Regions from separate parts of the Homo sapiens genome. Here region 1 is linked to region 2. The links are contacts of gene promoters, found by promoter capture Hi-C in blood cells and fetal thymus (Javierre and others, 2016). All regions are on one chromosome and are shown on one strand. Each heading gives the region's core, a stretch centred on a gene start or on the middle of the fragment in contact. The rest is flanking DNA. Distances are from core to core; before and after follow the strand shown.

What was found. Contacts are between HindIII fragments. The CHiCAGO score rates a contact against its expected background, and 5 or more counts as called.
Region 1: a fragment that was not itself captured here is called in contact with the fragment with the promoter of GPR85 in region 2 in 1 of 17 cell types (neutrophils); the score reaches 5.9 in neutrophils.

Annotation. Positions count from the first base shown.
Region 1 is chr7:112,591,429-112,598,298 of GRCh38, forward strand. No RefSeq gene overlaps it. Among named protein-coding and RNA genes, the nearest start is that of LINC03076, 23 kb to the right of the region's middle. The HindIII fragment of the contact is 1,544 bases long and covers 1,367-2,910 here.
Region 2 is chr7:113,081,860-113,088,577 of GRCh38, forward strand. It overlaps GPR85 (G protein-coupled receptor 85), which reads right to left and starts at 4,968. Exons shown (of 3, transcript NM_001146267.2): 1 at 4,463-4,968; 2 at 4,133-4,250; 3 at 426-3,032. The coding sequence starts at 2,862. The coding sequence ends at 1,750. RefSeq lists a silencer at 4,654-4,713. The HindIII fragment of the contact is 6,967 bases long and covers 4,846-6,718 here.

The DNA.
Region 1 (6,870 bases), core at 889-3,388, 490 kb before region 2:
GAAATCAAGTTCTTTGAAACTAATGAGAACAAATATACCATATACCAGAATCTCTGGGAAGCAGCTAAAGCAGAGTTAAGAGCGAAATTTATAGAACTAAATGCCTACATCAAAAAGCTAGAGAGAGCTCAAGTTAACAACCTAACATCTCAACTAAAAGAACTAGAGAACCAAGAGCAAACAAACCTCGAAGCTAGCAGAAGACAAGAAATAACCAATAGCAGAACTGAACTGAAGCAGATAGAGCAACAAAAAACAAACAAACAAACAAAAACTTTCAAAAAATAAGTGAATCCACAAGCTGGTTTTTTGAAAAAATTAACAAAATGGATAAACTGCTAGACTAATAAAGAAGAAAAGAGAGAAGACTCAAATAAACACAATTAGAAATGATAAGAAGGGTATCACCACTGACCCCACAGAAATACAACCACCAGAGAATACTATAAACACCTCCATGCAAATGAAGTAGAAAATCTAGAAGAAATGGATAAATTCCTGGACACATACACCCTCCCGAGGCTGAACCAGGAAGAAATTGAATCCCTGAATAGACCAATAATGAGTTCTGAAATTGAGGCAGTAATAAATATCCTACCAACCAAAAAATGCCCAGGTCCAGATGGATGCACAGCTGAATTCTGCCAGAGGTTCAAAGAAGAGCTGGTACCATTCCTACTGAAACTATTCCAAACAATTGACGAGGGACTCCTCTCTAACTCATTCTAAGGGACCAGCATCATCCTGATACCAAAACCTGGCAGAGATACAATAAAAAAGAAAACTTCAGGCCAATATCCTTGATGAATATCAATGCAAAAACCCTCAACAAAATACTGGCAAGCTGAATCCAGCAGCATATCAAAACCCTATCCACCACAATCAAGTAGGCTTCATCCCAGGATGTAAGGTTGGTTCAACATGTGCAAATCAATAAATATGACTTATCACATAAACAGAACTAAAGACAAAAACCACATGATTATCTCAATAGAGGCAAAAAAGGCCTTTGATAAAATTCAACATCCCTTCATGTTAAAATCTCTCAATAAACTAGGTATTGAAAGAACATACCTCAAAATAATAAGAACCATATATGACAAACTACAGCCAATATCACCATACTGAATGGCCAAAAGCTAGAAGCATTTCCCTTCTAGAAGCACAAGACAAGGATGCCCTTTCTCACCACTCTTATTCAACATAGTGTTGAAAGTTCTGGCCAGGGCAATCGGCAAGAAAAAGAAATAAAGTGTATTCAAATAGGAAAAGAGGAAGTCAAACTATCTTTGTTTGCAGATGACAGGATTCTATATCTAGAAAATCCCGTTATCTCAATGGTTGAGCTTCTTAAACTCAGCCTAAAAGCTTCTTAAGCTGATAAGTGACTTCAGCAAAATCACAGGATACAAAATCAATGTGCAAAAATTCTCATGCTATTTTCATTCTATTCCTATTCTCATGCTATTCCTAGATTATTGAGTGTGGTGGTTAATATTTAGGGTCAACTTGTTTAGATTGAAGGATGCAAAGTATTGTTTCTGGGTGTGTCTGTGAGGGTGTTGCCAAAGGAGATTAACATTTGAGTCAGTGGACTGGGAGAGGCAGAGTCACCCTCAATCTGGGTGGGTACCATCTAATCAGCTGCCAGTGCGGCTAGGATAAAAGCAGACAGAGGATTGTGGAAGGACTAGACTGGGTGAGTCTTCTGGCATTCATCTTTCTCCTGTGCTGGATGCTTCCTGCCCTCAGACATCAGACTCCAAGTTCTTCAGCTTTTGGACTCTTGGACTTACACCAGTGGTTTGTCAGGGGCTCTCGGGCCTCCAGCCACAGATTGAAGACTGCACTGTTGGCTTCTCAACTTTTGAGGTTTTGGGGACTTGGCATGGCTTCCTGGCTCCTCACCTTGCAGACAGCCTATTGTGAGACTTCACTTTGTGATCGTGTAAGTCAATACCCCCTAATAAGCTCCCTTTCCTATATACATCTATCCTATTAGTCCTGTCCCTCCAGAGAACCTGGACTAATATACTGAGTTTATTTCAGGAGTAGTTTTGGAATTTTATCAACTCCCTTTTCAGCACCTATTATTGCATGAATCAAATAGATTTTCTGGTTTTGTTTATTTATATAAGAAATTAAATGAATACATTTCTTATTATTTAATCATTTAACCACCCTTTCATTCTTGTAAAAAGTTCTACTTGGTTATGATATATTATTGTAATATGTTGCTACTTTTGATTTGTAATCTTTTAAGAAGACTTTTCCTTTTATAATCTTATGTGAGATTTAGAAAAAGGTTATTTTGGATAGTCTTTGTTCAATTTGGTGTTGTGCTAGCTTTATAGAAAAAATAAGGAAATTTTATATCAATTCAATACCCTGAAACGAATTAGGTCAAACTTGAAAAAATATCTTTCCTTTAAAGGTTGTAGAACTCACTCACACAATGGTCTGGGACTGATGCCCTTTTTTGTACAGTAGGTTTTTAAAAACCATGTTTTCAAGTCTTTTCTGTGGCTATTTGGCTATTCAGTTGTACATTTTCTCTGATATTCCTTTAATAATCTATGCATCCCTAACAATTATTTCCTCTAAAATTTTAGATTTATTGATATAAGTATTAGATAGATTCTTTTGTGGTTTCATAAGTATTATTTGCATCCTTGGCTATGTTTGCATTCTTATTTCTGTTCTTCTCTCTCTCTCTGTTTCTTTCTCTGTCTGGAGAGAATTGCCAGAGGCTTCTGAGTTTTATTGGGCTTTTTAAAGAACTAACTTTATCTTAATTAATCCAGTCTGCCTTTGAGGGGTTATTTTGTATTTAATCTATTTCTGTTTTTATCTTTTAAAATTCATTTATAATTTTTTGTTTTGTTCTTTTTATTATCATCATGAGTTGAAAGCTTAACGCATTCATTTTCTGTCTGTCTTGTTTTCTAAAAAATGCACTTAAGGCTGTGCGTTTCTACTGAGTATTGCTTTGGTCCCATGCCATAGACAGGAAATGCAGTCTTCTCATTGATGCTCATTTTTATTAGTAATTTTAGATGTAACTTCTCCTTTAATGCAAGGATTACTTAGAAAAATGATTTTAAATGTCTCAAATGCCTTTACTGTCTCTTCACATCTGTTTTTCATTAGACGAATTCGACTGTGTTCTTTAAATACCACAATAGGTCCTAAGTACCATTCAGCATCTCATTGTTCCCTTAGCTGAGCAGCTCCCAGATGGTATTCATCTGCCTGCTGAACCATTCCTTTATTATAGACAGACACTATTAGAAACCTCTCTGATATCCTTGGTCTCAACTATCAGGGCTTGTTGAATTGAAGCAGCTGAATTCAATACAGTTTAAAGTTGTTTCTTTCAAGAGTTAACTCATTTTTCTGGGCTTCAGACATTGAACAAGTAATGGCCTGGCCTTATCCAAAACTTGTGTGTATATATATATATATATATATACACACACACACACACACACACACACACATATGTGTATGTGTATGTGTGTGTGTGTGTGTGTATATATGACCAATTTTAGATTTCAAGATACCTACTCTCCTGAATAATAACATAGTTGGGGAAGTGAGGATACACGGACTTCATCTTGTAATGGAAGATGTCTCCCAGTTTTGATGATGTTTTGTATATGACTACAGATAGTATGAACCATGTGTAGTGAGCTCCTGTCTACTTTCCCATTATTTGTCAACCCAGGTCTTATCATTCTTCTTTCCAAATGGATTGGGCTCTATGGTGATGTGACTGATGTCCCCCTGTGATATTCCTCTGTGGCCCTTTGTAATAAATGTGCATTCCTTCAGATCAGCTAAACACTATGCTCTTAGAGTTAAACAATAAAATTAAAATTAATACAAGCCATAAACAAAATAAAACCAAAAATGCCAGCTAAGGGTGTTATTCTTCCATCTTTTAGGAAAGGAAGATTTGGGTACCTGAATGACTCCTCTGAAGTTCCTCAGGGGACAGAAAGAATAGCAGTCCTTAGCCAGGGAACACAGATCTCTACAGGCCAATTTTTCCCTAGAAGCCTCAGCTACTGGTCTGCTCTTCCTCCTAGGACTTTCTCCTTGGGTCCCTGGGTGCTCCTTGGGCTCACCTCTTTCCTTCAGGACTGGCCAGAGCTCACACCTTCCAAGCCCAGGAGCCATTTGCCTGGACGGTGTTGTGGCTGTTGGACTGGAAGTGAGGGCCCAGCAAATATTGAGCACACAAAACTAATTCACAGCACTATCCTCCTCCCTTAGACATTTACATCTTTGCCAGTCTTATGAGCATAAAATGGCATTTCATTGTGTTAATCTGATTTTTTCTAATTACTGGAAAGATTGAGCATCTTTTAATATGCCATTCAAACTCTCTCTTTTGCAAGTTGCTAGTTCATATTGCTTCCCATTTTCATACTGGCAGTTTACCTTTTCCTTAATAATTTGTAGTTGTATATATTAACATACCTATACTCTGGACACTAGCCCTTTGTTAAATGTATTACAACTCCCAGTTGGTGGCTTGTCTTCATTTTGCATTGTCTTTTTTTTTTTTGTACAAAAGATTTTAATGTTAATCTAAGTAGTTTATTTTTTTCTTTTTAAAGAAGGGAATAAATTTGAGGATGTCCTGTCTTCTCCACTGCCTCCAATTCCCAAGAAAATGTTGAAAAGGGGAAAATTAATGATTCACTTCTCTAACTATGATAATAAATAATAAGTGATGTTAATAGGAAAAAACCCAGACGGTGTTAACATTTTTATACTAGAGCTTTAAAAAGCTGCTTAAATGTCAATTTGTGCTAAAATACAGGCTTTAAAAGAGGCCTGCAAAATTAACTGTCGAGGTTATAAATCCTAAGAAAAAAACCAAATCTTAGGTCACATGAATGTCTGCCAGGACTGGGTAATTTTCACTTTAACCACTTTTTAGTTGACAGGAGTAATCTGTAAATGTTGCAACCTTATTATGTACAGGACAGGGTGGCTGAGTCATCTTGATATTAAAAGGAAAGAGTTTAAGTGCATTGTGGATCATCTTTATGCTGTAATATTAGAGGGAAGACACATTTAAAAGGAACATAGTTGAAAACAATGGGTCTAAAACGTTGCTACTCACATTTCATCTACGTAGAAAGGGAGGTCTCTGGCCACCATGGTAACTGTTTTTACACATAAACTCACTGGTCACATAAGGACATCAAGTAGACTAAAAATAAAAATGCCAAATTTTACATTTCAAGACCAAAAGTGAATCCTCTCACACAAAAAATATTTTTGTAATTAAACATCTCATAGCTGTTCATTTTCACTCCAAACTATGTATTTAACTCTTGATGGAAACATGCATACATTTCTGACTTATTAATTCTGAAAACTTGCTTATGACATTTAAAATAATTTAAAGTAGTGGCTTTGAGTTATTATTAGCATTCATCATTTTTTATATCCCATTTTTTCCCCCAATGCGTGACGTTGGGAAAAAACGCAAAATAATAAACTTATAGATTAATAATTTAAGCAATTTATAACTCTGGTCTTTTAAAAGTGATCTTCTGCAGACTCCTTCCTTCTTTCCAATCCTTCAGGGCAAGCTAAGCCCTATATTGTGAGAGTGGTCCATCTCAGAGGGTGAGATGTTTATTGGCCCCATTGTTGAGGAAGCCAGCAAACTGCGTACATCTAGGGTTGGCCAGCCAACTCCTGTGTTGTTTCTGGATGCTGATCAAACAGAATTCAATTCTGTTTGACTTTGATCCCAGTTCCATCTTCTAACTTCTAGAAGAAACCCATACTTTCTTGGGTTCTGTGACATCCTTGACTTGTGACTCAGATCCTTGGCAGTGCTATGGGGCCTCAGTTGTTCTCTAGGTCGCTCTTGTTTCCTCAACCCTGTGATAACTCCCAAGTTGGTCCTTAAAACCTGTATTTAAAAAATTTTTTTTTGAGTATACCATTCGCCCTTTGTATTCTCGAGTTTCATATCTGCAGATTCAACCAACCACAGATAAAAAATATTGAAAAATAATAATAATAAATAGCAATACAACAATAAAAATAATTTAAAACCAACACAGCATAGCAACTATTTACATAGTATTTACGTGGTGTTATGTATTATAAGTAATCTAGGGATGATTTAAAGTATACAGGAGGATGCGCTTAGGTTATATTCAGATAATACACCATTTATATCAGGGACTTGAGCATCTGCAGATTTTGGTGTCCATGGAGGTCCTGGAACTAATCCCCCTTGGAAACCTATCCAAGAGACAATCTGGGGATACATGTAGATAGTATAATGGTTACTATAGTGAGGCAGATTAGCATATCTGTCATCTTACATAGTTGCTTTTTTGTGACAAGAACAGCTAAAATCTACTTATTTAACAAAAATCCCTAATGCAATACAATTTTATTAACTTTAGTCTTCATGTTGTATATTAGCTCTTTAGGCTTTTTCATTCTACATACCTGCTACTTTGTATCCTTTGTCCTGCATCTCCCTATTTCCTGCCACTCCCCCGACTCTTGGTAACCACTGTTTCACTGTCTGGCTCTATGTATTTGAACCTCTTTTTACAAATATATTCCACAGGCAGGTGAGATCATACCATACTTTTCTTTCTGTATCTGGCTTATTTCACTCAGCATTTTGTCCTTTAGGTCCATGCATGTTGTGGCAAATGGCAGAATCTCCTTCTTTTTAAGGTTGAATAATATTCCACTGTGTGTGTGTGTACACATGCCACATTTTCTTTATCTATTTGTTCATCAGTGGACATTTAGATTGTTTCTATATCTTGGCTATTGTGAATGATACTGGAATGAACATGGGAGTGCAGATATCTT
Region 2 (6,718 bases), core at 3,718-6,217:
TTTCTAGTTTTGTCATAATGTTAGTGTAAACCATTCTTCTTACAAGTTGTATATTTAGAACCCCAAATTTCTATGGTACTATGCTCCAAATTAAAGTGTGATGTTTATATTAAAATTCTGAGCCAATTAACTAAGCAGGTACACATCTCTAAATACTACTGGCATTTAAGAATAATAGAGGGATGATTATAATAAACTACCAAATAATGCTTTTACAGATAATATTATGTCAGTTTATCAGCATTATGTTGATTATCATTCATACATTTCCAGTCTGGAATGTAGTAGCTACAAGAATCAAAAAGCAAAACCATAATAAAGCTAGTCTTCCTAGTTTGTGCTTGCCTCCCAAATTAAAAAAAAAGTTGTTATGTGCCAAAAATGTAAAACTTATTTCAAGAAAATTAACAGGCTACACGGGTAAATTTTGGCAAATGCAACTTTATATTGAAGTTCACACATCTGTATCTTAAAGAATGAGACTCACAGACTCTAATGTATTTCTAAAATACCAGAAATCATAATATAAGCTTTCACAAGTTAAAACTGAAATAATTTAAATTACCAATACACTGAATGTGCAGAAAGTATAAACAAGACTGTGCCTTCAGTAGAATAAATGCTTCACAAATTGTGCAGGATGTCATACTAAGGCTGTGGTCTCCCCTTGACAGCTGACTTAAAATATAAACATACATCAACTGCCTGCTTCTTAGAACAGTTTAGAAAGGGTAGCACACCGTAGAAGAAAATCTCATTATTTCAGTGATGTGCACTTTAAGTTTCAAACCATGTGAGAAAAAAGGAAAAAGTAATAAATGATCTTCCATGCACTTTTAGATGCATGACCATGACCAGTTACTGATTTGATTTCCCTTGGCTATTTGCTCCAGTGCTAAATAAGATGAAGGATACTAGATAACCCTTTAAGGCAACATGTATTTATTCTGCATTATTAGAACTGCTCAGTTGTGACAGGCTGGTACCATTAATGTTGCCTCCCAGACCAATATCTAGCATTTGTAAAATATAAATGAATTGGAAAAACTTTATACCAAATCAACAAAAACCACATAATACAGTTCAATGCTAGCAATCTTACTAGTAGATGAGGAAAGTGGTATTTAGAAATAGCAATGTATTAATACAAAAAAAGTAAACTCTAATTGGAACCAATATACTGCTTTGGAATGCTCCCCAGAACTTACAAGGCGGTTTTTAAAGTGTGATATTCCAATAATTCATTGGCACGTCTTTAGTGGATTACAGTACTTTAAGTCCCCAAATATTTTAGTCTTTGCAAAACAATAGTAGTATGAAATGTTTTAAAGTCTTCAAACTTCTAAAATTAGTTTTTATCAACACATTTACCTCATGTCAACTTAATTTATTAAGATGTCCAATGCTAATTGTTTTTTGATGTTTTTTCATATGTAGTGACATACAGAGCATTTAGCACTGATACTTAGCACCTGCTACTTTCATTATCTAGTTTTTGACCACATAAAGAAACTTAGGGCAGTGGTTCAGTCCCTTCTTAATTACAAACCTTTGCTGGCAGTCAGCAGGATCACTCTGAGATTTAAAATAGGATTATAGGTGAACTATTGCAAAGACTGCAGAATGTTGCCCAAATCCTTAAAACTGCTGATTCCATTCTTGAATTTCTTCTCAAAATATGGCTATGGGCCACAATTGCTCAGCAGAGAAGGTTAGTTTTCACAAGGCTAAAGATTTACAGATGCTCCCTCATATAACACAGTAAGGTTCCCTTGGTAACCTGGATTTTCTGCAGTAAAGAAGGGTTGTGCTGAAACAGCGCCTCAGCTCCCTGTTTGAGAAAATGCAGACAAAAGGATTGATTCCTGCTTGGGCAAAACTCATCCAGACAGCAGCTGTTAGAAATCCCCCTGGTACTACAGGCCCTCTTGCAAAAACTCTCCAATAACAGGCCACCAGGTAGGGGCCCCACAAGGTTAGAAACAGAAAAGTCATTATATAGAACATTCTGCTGATTCTTTTCTCCATTTTGAACTCGTCTAAGACCAATAGCCTTCTTCTGCCTGTGGTGTTTGCATTTTGCCTGATGCCCAGCAAGGTGGGTGGTGTGGGACCCCTTCCAAATCCTGCTAGCCAATTGGCAGCTGCCTGGCCACTGGCTCCAGGACCATGAAAAGTCCAGTTCTGGCTGACTGCTGCTACAAACTGGACTGGCTTCATTTTTCTTCGATCGTGGACGAAAAATATCAGCTTGAGGTAGACAAGCTGTGTGGCTAGGAGGATGAGAGCAAGAAGCAGCATAAATCCTAAGGAATCATTAGCCCTGAAGGAGCGGTGTTGGAAGGTGCATTGATCTTCCTCCCTAATGAATGAGTAAGTGCCCACGTCTAAAACCGGGGGAAATGCCATGGCCACAGACAGAGTCCACACCATACAGATCACAGCCAGACACGTCCAAAAGGTCAGCCTCTTTGTATAGAAGCGGTGATGGGCGATAGCTAAATATCTGGTGACACTGATGCAGAAGAGCATGAAAGCAGTGTGGAAACAGGACAAAACCCCCAGAAAGGCAATCACTTTGCAAGTCAGAGTCCCATAAGTCCAGGTAGAACCATTTTTGACAGAGTTGAACACAAATGGGAAACAAATTGCAGATCTGAGGATATCTGAACAGCAAAGATCCAACAGGAAGTAGTAAGGTGCTCTATGCAAGGTCTTATCTTTCACTAGCAAAATGGAGATCAGGAGGTTGCCCACCACGCTGACTCCTATTATGAAACCCAAGGAAGTCAGTTTCAGAAAGGCTGTTAGAGGCGAGAGATTTTGCAAAATGTTGTCAGCTGCATGGCTATAGTTCGCCATAGATGGATGGAGGATAAGGATACAGCCTCAGTCAAGTCTCATGATCTAGATATAAGAACAAGGAAAAGATAGATCCATACATTTTACTGAAAATATAATCCACAAAGAGAACTGATCTGATCTGCAGTCATGCTTCCTCTTTTCTTCCACTTGTTTTGCCATCAGAATATCTGAAAAAAAAAAAAAAAAAAACCTATCAGTTCTTAAGTTAACAAGCAATGATGTCAGACAGTGCTAACAAAGCTGTTCACTTATGGGGAAGCAAATAAAGTTTTAATTTTGAATACTAATATTTGCTTTACTAAATATTTTTGCTCGAGATTTCAGAGAATTGGCTTGTTTAGTTTTTCAAGCTAAGTGAATTTTAAAATGTCCCTATTTTGGACAATATACATTTGATAGGGTAACTTTAGGAGAGAAGGAATAAAATGTCCCATTCTTGTAAAATATGCCAGTCCAGGAATTAACCACTAGAATTGCAATGGAATCTACAAGATTGCTATTAGGAGGCAGAGACACTACCTACATTTATTTGAGATCTATTAGTATCTGTCAGTGTTTCACAGGCAGCTTCTCTGTTTGATGTGGGTCCAAAGAACCCGTGCAAAATATATCTTAAGTGCCACTATTCATGCTGCATAAGAGTATTTGTTGATTCATCTTAAAGCAAAATTTCAAAATTAACTTCAAAATTAATAGGAACTTACTTGTCCCAAGATTTGATGTGATTTAATCATTTGTCTTTCCCTCTCCACCCTACCCCCCATTTCTGGCAAATCTTTTAAGCCCACATGATTATTAAAATGGTTAATGTAAATATTGGACAGGGAAACACACCCAGAGGAATAATGCACTTCCATTTGTAAACCTTGGCTGCCTGGATTCAAATGAATATAACATGAACCTGTATTTCTTGGGCAATTAAGCCTTTCCCATTTACACTGATAACCTTTGTTGCAAATCACAAGTGGCTGCTTTTTAAAACAAAATGCACATTGTCTCGCAGGTGCCTGGACCACACCAGGGAAATCGGCTTCCTCTGTTATTCCCACCAAGCGTGTTTCTTTTGCCACTTCTCACTGGCCCGGAATATGCTGGTGGAAGCCCAGGCAAAACTGCGTTCGATGATTTTAATTTCCCCACCGGTACATCCTCGGGTAAATACCGATCGCATCATGCAACATTACGAAACCTGAAATCCGCCACCCCTGGATTTATAATGGGGGGAGGGTGGAGGAGGGGGAGAGGGAGAGAGACATGCATTACATACGCGAAGATGGGGAGAGAGATTGCTTCTGTGCTGCAAAGGAACCGTTCCCGGTGATTCGCAGTCTGATATTCCTCAGTCTTGTAAGGCTTTCCAGAAATGGAGCTCTCAGTAAGCCCTACTGAAGATGCATTGTCTGAATGTACTTCCATTATGCAGTTTATTGTCACAAAACACATACACACACACACACACACACACACACAGAGACACACACACACACACACACACACACAACCTGAGGGAGGGCTCTTTCTCGGTGAACCTGCAGTTTCATCAACACTGTGCATTCCCCCACATCCCCCAAACTTAACCAAGAGTATATCCTCCTACCTGTTGGTGTTGGATATCCCGACAGACTATAGCTTCTTTCTATAAATTGCTGATTTTTTTCTTTTTTTCTTTTTCTTTTTTTTTTTTTTTTTTTTGTTTTTTGTTTTTTTTTTTTTTTTTTTTGCCTTAGTGCCTTGACTGAGCATCCAGGCAGGGCTCGGCGGCGCCTGCGCGCTGGAGCCTCCTTGAGCTCCAGCCGCGTCCTCCCCTGTCGCAGCGGCACCGTCTCCCCCAGTAACGCAGGGGCCGCGGCGGCGGCGGCTGCGGTGGCGAGGGCGGCGGCGGGGCTGCTTCAGCCTCTGTGGAACCAGCAGGAACCCCTACCTGACTCCAGAGCTGGCTGGGTTTATTGACTGCCCTGTCCAATCCAACTGGCAGCATTAAGCTTTTGTCCCTTCGTGGCTGCTTCTGAACTTTTCCCTCCCCGCATTTGTAGTGGGGGGCTGGAAAGGCCCTTTCAGGACCTCAGGCCCATCCTCTTCCCAAAGGCAGCGCACGAGGAAGTCACAGTGCCCGTGACGCCCGCCCCCTCCCTCAGCTTCCCGGAACCCTAACCTTCCCCAGACACTTTCTTCCCTTTTCTTTTAGGGTGGTCCAAACCACCGGAGGCTTCTTTTATATATTTATTTTTAAGTGATGTCTCCAGCTAACCTTTAAATTTGCAGGTTAGCTGGAAAAAGACAAGAAAAGAATGGGAAAAAAGAAAAAAAGTTATTTATTTATTTATTTATCTTTTTCCCACAGTTAAAAATCTTTTCAATGGGGAAGAAGGGAAGGCACGTTAGGGCAGCTCTCTCTTTGTTAGTCATCTTCTATTCTCCAATGCACGCAAATATGCGTAAAAGTAGGGAGAAAGCTAAGTTCAGAGGACAACTACAATATGATTTACATTCAGTCTACCTTAAAGGATGTCACTAAAGAATCAGGCTTATAAAATGTTTAAATGGCTATTCCTGGCATTCCACCCCACCAAGCAACAGTATTCCTTTTCCCTTCTTACAAGTTCCGCTGACCAATGATGGGTGATGTCAAAGCAGTTATGTGTACGAGTTTCCTTTTTTCCCCTTTGTTATTACAGATGAAAAATACTAGAAATATAACAAATACGTAAAACTTACACCAGTCCAAACGGTCGGATGATACCACAGACACCACAAAGCCTGACACGTGGGTGCTTAGGAATGCCTCTAGAATCATGCATTTTCTTATTTTACCATTTCCGAAGAGTTTTGTTTGTGGAGGTGATATAAAATTTTAAGCAACAACTTCCCAGTTCTCCTACCCAAAACTAGCAGACACGCTTTCATTAATTCCCAATGTAAAACGTCTGCTTCTTTTTCTGCATGCTTTTTGCTTTATAATAATCTGTTAATGAAACAAAAAATAAAAATCTTCTCTACAGTAATAATCTGATCTTGAGACAGCAGTAAAATACCTCATTGCTGGGTGGTGAGATTGTGACATTCAGGGGAACTCAGGCCAATCAGCATACAGATAATATGGGTTAATTTACATACTGTATTTCTATTGGATGAGCCGAGGTAAAGCCTTATCTTGATGTCACAGTCGTTACACAAAGCCCTATGTTGGTAATACTGAAATGATGTTAAATTTCCCTGATTTGTTCTTGAATTTCCTACGTCCATTTAAATACATGGATAATAGTTTGTTTTTTTCGAAAAGAATATACACAAGGCACTAAACTTTGGCATTCCCTTAACCTAGAAAAATCAATCCTACAGCCATGCTGGAAGTAACTTGAGGGCATTTCCATTCAAATAAAACATTCCACTTTTTGCAAAGCAAATGAATTCAAAACTCAAAACCATGTGGTGGTTTGCAACTTCTAAGTAAAATGTCAAATTCGTTTTTATGAAACTACAAATCACTTCAACTTGTGCTTTTTTGCTTCCCAATAAATGCTTCAATGTACTTTGCAAAGAGTTATTTCCTGAATTTTTACAGTTTTAAAAAATGTATGGAATAAGAGGCTTAAGTTTGCTGAAGATTCATGATTGGTCAGATGTTAGGTTGTACAGATTAGGGAAAAGCTATTTTAAAGTAAATTAAAAGAGTCACTGCACTGCCAGGCCATGAAGCAGTAATATACTCTGCCAAAAGTTATAGGGCCAAGATCCAAGGGTTTTAACTAGTCTTATTCTTTAAGCAGATATTGATTCCTTAAAAATAAGGGAGAGGGTATATGTGTATGCAATATTCTTTCATATCCACATCTCAGGGTATAGTAAAGCTATT